3 separate regions of the Homo sapiens genome follow, and all the other regions are linked to region 3. The links are contacts of gene promoters, found by promoter capture Hi-C in blood cells and fetal thymus (Javierre and others, 2016). All regions are on one chromosome and are shown on one strand. Each heading gives the region's core, a stretch centred on a gene start or on the middle of the fragment in contact. The rest is flanking DNA. Distances are from core to core; before and after follow the strand shown. Region 1 has its middle 85 kb from the start of HEPHL1. Region 2 has its middle 61 kb from the start of VSTM5. Region 3 holds the start of GPR83 (G protein-coupled receptor 83).

The links. Contacts are between HindIII fragments. The CHiCAGO score rates a contact against its expected background, and 5 or more counts as called.
Region 1: a contact is called between a fragment that was not itself captured here and the fragment with the promoter of GPR83 in region 3, in 1 of 17 cell types (megakaryocytes). The highest score is 7.1, in megakaryocytes.
Region 2: a fragment that was not itself captured here is called in contact with the fragment with the promoter of GPR83 in region 3 in 3 of 17 cell types (M1 macrophages, M0 macrophages and endothelial precursors); the score reaches 7.5 in M1 macrophages.

What each region holds. Positions count from the first base shown.
Region 1 is chr11:93,935,013-93,938,402 of GRCh38, forward strand. It overlaps the pseudogene LOC101060084. Among named protein-coding and RNA genes, the nearest start is that of HEPHL1, 85 kb to the right of the region's middle. The HindIII fragment of the contact is 162 bases long and covers 2,025-2,186 here.
Region 2 is chr11:93,910,398-93,913,589 of GRCh38, forward strand. It overlaps the pseudogene LOC101060084. Among named protein-coding and RNA genes, the nearest start is that of VSTM5, 61 kb to the left of the region's middle. The HindIII fragment of the contact is 3,124 bases long and covers 1-2,981 here.
Region 3 is chr11:94,399,907-94,402,991 of GRCh38, forward strand. GPR83 (G protein-coupled receptor 83) reads right to left here and starts at 1,513. Exons shown (of 4, transcript NM_016540.4): 1 at 955-1,513. The coding sequence starts at 1,341. The HindIII fragment of the contact is 12,804 bases long and covers 1-2,930 here.

The sequences.
Region 1 (3,390 bases), core at 856-3,355, 460 kb before region 3:
CTTCCAGATGAAAACTACTAGACGTGCCAAAAATAGGAAAATGTGAACCAGAGCTCTTTTAGGGCCTTTGTATTTGGTCTTCTCTCAGCTGAGAACTCTCTTCCCTCAGATGTCTGTCTGCACAACACCTCAATTCATTTGAGTATCTATTCAAATATTTTCCTTAGAGAAGCCTTCTCTGATATATAAAATTATCACCATCTGTCAATCTTAATTCCCTCCTGCTATTTTTTCTTATTCATAGCATTTAGTCATTAGATTGTAAATCTCTTTGATATGTATTTGTTTGACATGTACTGTATGTAATGTGCACTCAGAAACACTTATTGCGTGATTGAATGAATATAAAACAATATTTAGTTTTCTTTGGGTAAGGCTAAACATTTACGTTACCTAAATTTCTAGTAAATGCCACCAGAATTTGTGTGTGTGTGTGTGTGTGTGTGTGTGTGTTTTAAAACTGAATTTATTTCCTTCTCCTAGACTTCTACTCTTTCTGGCTTACCTGTATTAGTAGCATCTCCAGCCAACTCCTTCTTTATCTTGCTTTCCAGTCAGCCATCACCCTTGCCAGTTCTGCTTCTGTAAGATCTGTCAGTCTCTCCAAAACCAACCACTTTACTTCCCTACTTACAACTATTGCCTCTTCACAATAAAGTCTGACATCCTTAACATCACAAGCATAGGATGGCATGGCTTTGCATGTATTCTGTGTATTGCTAGCTGGCTGAGGTGATGGAAAAACAGAGTAAAGGCATCCCATTGACTGTGGGTTGTCATTCTCTCTTGTCCTTTGGCCTCTTATGGCTAAACTGAACATTCTATAAAGGAAGAAATCCAGGCTAACAATGACAGTACAGTGTACTAAGTGCCATCGTAAAGTCAATACTGAATGTTCCACAGGAAGCAAAGAAAAAGATGCTTGACTATGATTGGCAGGGAGACGTTGGAGGAAATGATGCTCACGGCAAACCTTAAGGGATGAGCAGGAGCTTAGCAGGTGGTCAAGGTGAGAAACCGGCATTCTGGGCTGAACAAACAGCATAGTGCAGGTGTACAGAGGTGTCAGATGACAGGGTTTTATATGCCCTGCAGGTGAATCTAGATATATTCTGAGGGCAGTGAGGAATCACTGCAGGGTTTTAGAATCAGATTTATGTGCTTCAAGAATACTTTGGCAACAATTTTTTGGATGGCTTTAGCGGGGGACTGGAGGTAGAAAACCATTAGGAGACCACTGCAATAGTCCAGGCAAGAGACAAAGGGCAGAAATAATACCACTAGCTAACATTATTTTGAGCTATGTGCCAGGCACATAGTAGGTTCTCATTTTGTTTAATTTCATTTTATCCTAACATTCCTATGAGGTGGAGAAACTGAGCAGTTTGCCCACAGTCACACAGTGAGTGGTGAAGCTGAGTCAGAAATTCAGGTAATGACCCCAGAGCTTGTGGTCCAAACAGCACAGAGGATGGATTTTAGAGTGTTTAGGGACATTAAGTAATTAAAGGATAAGATCTCATTTCCCTCCCAGAACAGTCTAGCTCAGAGTCCTTAGTTTGGCTTGTGGGAGATTCATTAGGGGCCAACCCACCTTCCCTGGGGATAGAGCACGTAAGTCAGGCCATGAGGGCTGTGGCTGGGCTGGTTTGTTTCCTCTGAGCTTTGCTTGCTTTGCTCTGCTGGATTTGAATTATGAGAGTGACTGGCAGGCTGATGCCAGCATGATGCGTGAAAAACACTCTCCAAATTGGAAAGAATTTTCCTTCTGGGCTAAGCTGAGAGCACATGTTGCTCATTGGCAGATCCTGAAAATCCCAGCATTCAGAGATTTACCAGCGTTCTCTGTAAAGCAAAGCAGATGCCTCTGTGTCTGTCCTGTGAAGGGCTATGTGAGAGGAAAATGAGTTCCCATGCCTTACCTGCTCACCAACAACGTAGGTTTTAAAGGCAAAGGAACAAAAAGAGTTCAAGTTTGTATCTCCCAGATCATTTCTACCTAATAGAAATGTGAGTTAATTGTAAGCTTTAAACTTAGACACACTCATTGCCTATTAGGGGTGACTATTTTATTACACATTGTTTGTCAAAAGAGATGCATTTCTATTCCTTTTGCAGTCGAATGAGGCAGGAGCAAGGCAAGCAGGTAACCTTGCTCTTTGAGGATTCCTGCAACTGTCTGAGAAAGCTTTGGCAGTTCTGGTGTGCACGCGACTGACATGCAGGTCTCTTGAGCGTGATGACATTTTTGGGACCTACCTTCTAGAACCTACTGGATTTGCTGTGTCTTGCAGCATAAGTTCACTGCCTCTCTAACTAAATAAAAGTTAAATAAATAGTTAAAATTTAAAACTTGACAGGGTGCAGTGGCTCATGCCTGTAATCCCAGCACTTTGGGAGGCTGAGGCGGGAGGATTGCTTGAGCTCAGGAGTTTGAGACCAGCCTGAGCAACACAGAGAGACCCCATCTCTACAAAAAGTAAAAAGAAAAAAAAATTAGCTGGGCATGGTGGTGTGCACCTGTGGTCCCAGCTACTTGGGAAGCTGATGTGGGAGAATTGCTTGAGATCGAGAGGTGGAGGTTGCAGTGAGCCAATATCGTGTCACTGCACTCCAGCCTGGGTGACAGAGTGAGATCCTGTCTCAAAAAATAAAAGAATAAAAAATTAAAATTAAAATTAAAAAAATTAAAACTTACAAAAAGTTTCATTGATGGCGTTTTCATCATGTTTAAACTTCCGGATCTCAAAGAAGTTAGGTGTCTGATCAAAGCCACCTTATTTGAGAGGTCTTCCTGACCACTGAACACAAGCACCAATATTCCTTGGGCCTTCTCACACCAGTACTCTTTAACTCAGTTGTCCTTATTGATTTTTCTTCAGGACACATATCAGCACCTAATAAATATGTTGTTTGTCATCCATTTCTCCTTATAAAATAAAAACTACATGGGGGCAGGGACTTGATTTTGTTCACTGCTCTATGCTCAGTATCTAGAATGGTTCTTGGCACATAGTAGATGCTCAACAAATATTTATGGAATGATTGAATAAGTAAACTCCTAGTCTATTTCCAACAATAGTCTAATGTGTATTTAGAGTTCATGCTGATCCTCAAGTTGCATACTCAAAATCTTTGCATTTTACTCATCTCTTTCTCATATCTAGCTGACTGCTGTACATTGCAAAGTTATAGCACTTCTCACATGTGGCAGAATTTTCTTTGATTTTGAGAATCATTTGTATTGTCAAATGCCTCAGACATTAGGATGTATAGTATTTGTTCTTTCCTTATCACTTTCAACCTCCTTTTTAATGGCTACTTTTGTTTCCATTGTAAGGATGCTCTTCTTAATTGTTGTAGTAGCATTTTGGGAGGTCAAGGCAGAGG
Region 2 (3,192 bases), core at 170-2,669, 490 kb before region 3:
TTTTTCATGCTTCCCTTTGCATTGGATGTGGTTTATGGGGGACTCGGTGTTAGTGGATTTTCCTGGAGAGTATTTTTTTTGGATAGGTTAGCATATTTTATCTCCCAGGAAAACTGGAGAAAGAGTATTGAGATTCAATTTGTCATGCTAACAGGATGAAATGATATGTACTATGATAGCACAGTCTATGACAAGGACCTGAACTCTTTTTATAGTGTTTCTCCCCAATTTCTGTTCATCAAAGCAGAATCACCTCTGCCCTCACCCACTTCCCCAGCTTGTAACCTGCGAATCCAGAGGCTTCTCTCTCGTTGCCTTATTCCTTCCTAAGAGCCAGGTAGCCTACCTGTTACTCATTCAGCTACATTCTCTCACTAGGTGGGGCTGACTTGAATAAAATTATTTTTGATTAATAGTGTATTTTAATTAAAGATACATTTTACTTATTTTAATTTTAATTTTTAAATTTTTTAAATTTTTTGGGATGGAGTGCAGTGGTATGATCTTGGCTCACTGCAACCTCCGCCTACTGGGTTCAAGCAATTCTCCTGCCTCAGCTTCCCGTGTAGCTGGGATTACAGGCGCATGTCACAATGCCTGACTAATTTTTGAATTTTTAGTAGAAACAGGGTTTCACCATGTTGGCCAGGCTGGTCTGGTACTTCTGACCTCAAGTGATCCTCCTGCCTCAGCCTCCCAAAGTGCTGGGATTACAGGTGTGAGCCACTGTGCCTGGCCTAAAGACACATTTTAAATTAATGAATATTTATTGTGGTAAAATATACATAAAATTTACCATTTTAACTATTTTAAGTATGCAATTCAGTAACATGAATTATATTCACATTGTTGTACAAACATTACCGCCATCTATCTCCCAAAATTTTTCATCATCCCAAATTGAAACTCTGTACCTATTAAATGGCAACTCCCCATTGCCTTCCTTCCCCAGGCCTTGGTAATCACTATTCTACTTTATGTCTCTATGAATTTGTCTTTTAGTTAATTTTTTATCTCTCTTATCTTTAGTTTTGAATGGCTACTAGTAAGTGCCAAGCCTGGGTGAATGGTTATAAAGATCGTCCATGCTCTGGGGAGATGGGACGCCTTTTTCTGTTATCCAGGAGGGAAGATTGGGTTCAGATGACAGAAGATGGAAGAGAGAAAATAAGATGCACTGAGTAACCTCTCTGAGTTAGGCCTCGGCACACACTCTCCTACAAAGGATCTAGTGTCATATATAAGGGGCTGAGGAGGAACTTAGAATGGCAGTGTGACTTGCCCAAGGTTGAAAGTACAGAGCTGGGATTTGAACTCGTGTCTGACTCCTAGTCCAGTGCTTTTCCTTTCCTCCCCCCATCCCCCACAATAACAGTTTTATTGCATAGCAGAAAATGCATTCTTTAAAATATACATTGCAGAGCTGAGCTTTGTGGTTTGTGCCTGTGATCCCAGCTATTCAGGTGGCTGAGGCAGGAGGATCACTTGAGCCTTAGAATTCAAGGCTGTGGTGAGCTATGATTGGGCTACTGCACTCCAACAACAGAGCAGACCCTGTCTCTAAAAAAAGTGAAAATGAAAAAGGATACAATTCAGTAGTTTTTAGTGTATTAATAATTTTATGCAACTATTATCACTAACTTTAGAATATTTTCCTCACCCTAAAAAAAACCCCATACTTGTTAGCAATCAATCTCCATCCCCCGAGCATCTGGCAACCTTTCTTTCTTTTTCTTTTCTTTTCTTTTCTTTCTTTCTTTCTTTCTTTCTTTCTTTCTTTCTTTCTTTCTTTCTTTCTTTCTTTCTTTCTTTTTCCTTCCTTCCTTCCTTCCTTCCTTCCTTCCTTCCTTCCTTCCTTCCTTCTTTCTTTCCTTTTCTTTTCTTTCTTTCTTTCTTTCGAGTGCTTTACTCCCTTTTATTGCTGAATAATATTTTATTGTATGAATATATCACATTTAAAAATGTATTCATCAATTGATGAACATTTGAGTTGTTTCTGCTTTTTGGCTATTAAGAATAATGCTTCTATGAACATTTGTGTACAAGTTCCTGTGTAAACATATGTTTTTATTTATCTTGCATAGATACCTAGGAGTGGAATTGCCACTTTTATTTTGAGAAACTTCCAAACTGTTTTTCAAAGTTTTCCATCAGCAGTGTGTGAAAGTCCCGATTTCTCTGAATTCTTGCTAACATTTGTCATTGTCTGTCATTTTGATTTTAGCCATCCTGGAGGATATGAAGTATTATCTCATTGCAGTTGTGATTTTTATTTCCCTAATGGTTGATGATATTGAGCATCTTTTAATATGGTAACTGGCCACTTGTATATCTTTTTTTTTTTTTTTTGAGAGAAATGTCTATTTCCTTTGCATTTTTAAAAATTGGATTATTTGTCTTTTTATTGTTGTAAGAGTTAAAGAACTGTATTTGATTTCTGGTTACAAATTCCTTATCAGATATATGATTTGCAAATATTTTCTCCCATTCTGGGGCTTGTCCTTTCACTTTCTTGACAGTGTCCTTGGAAGCACAAAATTGTTCAATTTTGATGAAGTATAATTTATTTACTTTTTCTTTTGTTGCTTGTGCTTTTGGTCCCTTATGTAGGGAGACCATTGCCTAATCCAAGGTTACAAATATTTGCTTCTATACTTTCGTCTAAAACTTCCTAGTTTTAGCTCTTACATTTAGGTCTATAATTCCTTTTGATTTAATTTTTGTATATTATGTGAGATAGGGTTCCAGGTTCATTTTTTCTCTTACAGTCATCTAGTTGTTCCAGCACCTTTCATTGAAAAATATATTCTTTTCTCATTGAATTGTCTTGGCACCCTTGTCAAAATTAATTGGCTATACAGTAAATATAAGAGTTTATTTCTGAATTGTCAATTCTATTCCATTAATCTGTGTGTGTATCCTTACGCCAAGTTATTATAATTTTGTAGTAAGTTTTAAAATTAGAAAGTGTGAGTCATCCAAGCTTGTTTTTCTTTTTCAAGATCATTTGGGGTATTCTGGGTTCCTTGTATTTTCATGTTAATTTTAGGACCAGCCTGCTAATTTCTGCAAAAAAGACAGGTGAGATTTTGATAGGGATAGTGTGGGATCTGTTAATTGATTTGGATAGCATTATCATTTTAACATTATTAAGTCTTCCAATCCATGAGCATGGGATATCTTTCCATTTAT
Region 3 (3,085 bases), core at 263-2,762:
AGGGCTTGGGGAAGAATCCCATCAGCTGCCAATGTGCAAATGCCCCCAGCCTGCCCGATTTCTGGGGCCCAAGCCCACCTCCCCTCATTTCTTCCTCAACACAGACCTCAAACACAGCCTCATTATCAACCCACAGAAGGGAAATGCACTTTAAATAAGTGGTCTGGGAAAATGCACTTAATGTTCCATTAACAATTAGCAATTGTTTGATATTTCAGTTGTAGCACAAAGCAGTATCCCATGGGTACGGCTGGGCACTGAACAGGCTGCAATTCAGAGGGAGGGGGACCTGATCATCTCTGCTGACATTTCAGGGGCATTGATTTACTGCTCAATTATCAAGCAAGCCCAGACCCAGTGAGATTAAACAGGAAATGGTCATTCATTTCCAGCTGGCTGCAGACACTCAAACCATTGACCCAATGCCACCGCCGCAGAAGCTCTGGCTGATAAGGCGATGAGACAGAAAAAAGTGGGGAGAAATCAGAGAGTGAGGCAGGGGAGAGAGGAAGAGAGGAGAGGTGGGGAGAGGAGAGGAGAGGAGAGAGAATAGAAAAATAAAATCACAGAGAGACTGACAAGAAGAAAAAGAGATAACAGGTGAGGAGACAGAGACAGATGAATAGGGAGGCTGAAAGACAAAAAAAAAAAAAAAGATGAGGACACTGAGAGATAGAGAAGAGAGACAGAAAGACTTCAGAGAGAGAGACAGAGACTGAAAGAAAGACTAAGAAAAACAGGAGAGATACAAGAACCGAGATGACAGAGGAGGGAGAAAAGAGACTAGGACAGGAAGACAGAGGCAGAGGAGAGGAGAAATGAGGAGGAAGAGAGATGTGGAGAGAGAAGTGGGGACCCACAGGGAGACGCAGAACGGCAGAGGGAGGCCAGAGAACTGAGAGAGGAAAGGGAGACGAAGACAGAAGGTGGGGCGGCAGGCAGCGGGCCCCTTACCAAAGTGAAGGGGGTGTTGAGCAGCGTGATCATTATGTCGGCAACTGCCAGGTTGACGATGAAGAGGCTGGTGGCCGAGTGCATTCGCTGGTTCTTGAAGATGACATGACAGACCAGGACGTTGCCAAAGAGTGAGAAGACAATGATGAAGGAGTAAGCCACAATGAGCAGGGCTTTCACCGTGGGGTTCTGGGACTCAGCGCCGTAGCGCCTCCTGCCCACAAAGTTCTGCCAGTCGGAGAAGGTGTAGTTGTTCCAAGAGAAGAAGTGCGAGGCATTGGGCACGGCCAGGGCCGCCTCCGCGCTCTGCTCGTCGGCCCGGCCCTCGTGGGGCTCGGTGGCTCGCACCAAGGGGAGGAGACAGAGCAGCAAGAGGTGAGGGACCATTTTGCAGGAGCCACCCCTCCCCTGGGAGCCTGCGGGCCGGGCGTCCCCTCCCGCTGGGATCGGAGCGCGCAGCCGGGGTGCGGGGCGCACAGCATACAAGGCCGTCCCGAGGAGCCAGGGAGCCCGGACGCGCGGAGCACCGCGCCGCCCGCCACCAGCCCGCGGTCGGCACGCCAGCTCCGGGTTTGTTGGAGCACTTTTATATCTCTGCTCCCACCAGGCTGCTAGGGAGCGCCTCTGCCTATTGGGCAGCGCGGCGTCTCTCGCGGCGACGGTGACGCGCTCTGGCTCTGACAAGCCTGGCTCCCCCCACCCTACCGGGTGGCGCCGTTGCTGACCCCACGCCCAGCCGTTCCCACTCCCGCCTGAAACTCCTCCGACAGGGCTTCGCTTCGGGGGCTCAGTCCCCAGCGCGTACACACTCGCGTGGTGTCGGCTTAGCCTCTTGTAAAGGAAGCAGGGCAGGCAGGTGGGAGGAAGCCCACAGGGGCACTTGGGATGATGAGGGGGCATGCTGGCAAAGCCGGGTCAGTGACAAGGATATATTCCATTTGTTTCCACCTAAGCCTTAGCCTTGGCACAGTTTCAATATCGAAATGGATCGCTGCGTCCCGGCGGTCCCAGGAAAAAGGCAAACCAAAAAATAGAGACGTTAAGGATTCTCCAAGTCCCCGGAGTATCCAGATACCAGAGGTGCTGGAGGGCTTATTAAAGGATTACAGTTTCTTTGACAGCCCCCAGGAATGCAATCTGGGGAGCTTTGTTTTTCAAGGAAACTCTTCAAAGCAGTTCGGATACCATCAAAGAAGCGAAGGAAAAGAGAAGTTTAGCTGTGTGCTCACCTCTTGGGTAACTTGAATTTTTCTGCCATGGAAGTCCTTGAAGCTATATCTTTAAGGGATATTATGACCCATGCTGTTTTTCCTTCCCCATCTACTTCTTCAGGAAACCTTGCTATCCTGCTCACCCGTTTTCACTTCCACTGTGAAAACTCTCCCAGTCACTGGGTCCTCTGCCACCCACAAGCCTGTAGTAAAGACCATGGGCTCTGTAATTAGGGTTTAATCCCAGCTTTGTCACTTCCTAGCTGTGAAATCTTGGGCAAGCCATTTAACATTTTTGGCCTTGGTTAAAAGGCTTTCTTTTCCTAAATGTGAGGTTTTCAGAGACCCCTGTATACATCTCTCACTGCATTGCCCTCTGGTGCAAGACATGCAATATCTGGTTGACTACTGGTAACCACCCCTGACCCCCAACAGGAAACACCATGTAGATTCTTTACATTGTGTCAACGTGCCCTGGGGAGCAATGTCCTTGGGCTGGGACCCAAACAATGACTCAAACCTAGGTATTACTCTTGTCTCCAGTTTTCCACTTCACATGTACTCTTCAAGCAACTGTGTCTGGAGGAAAGGATGGCTAGCAGATAACCCTCAATTATACTGAAGGACCTGGCAGGTCTCACAGGATTAAATGGCTGAAATAGGGGATTATGTGACAGATCCTAGAAGGGACAAGGTGCTAGGCCGATGAAATAATACATCTTTAGCTCCAGGAAATAAACCAAGAGACTGCCTGTAAACACTGAAAGCTTGGGGGCCGGGCGCGGTGGCTCACGCCTGCAATCCCAGCACTTTGGGAGGTCGAGGCGGGCGGATCCACGAGGTAGGAGACCGAGACCATCCTGGCTAACACGGTGAAACCCCATCTCTACTAAAAATACAAAAAATTAGCTGGGCGTGGT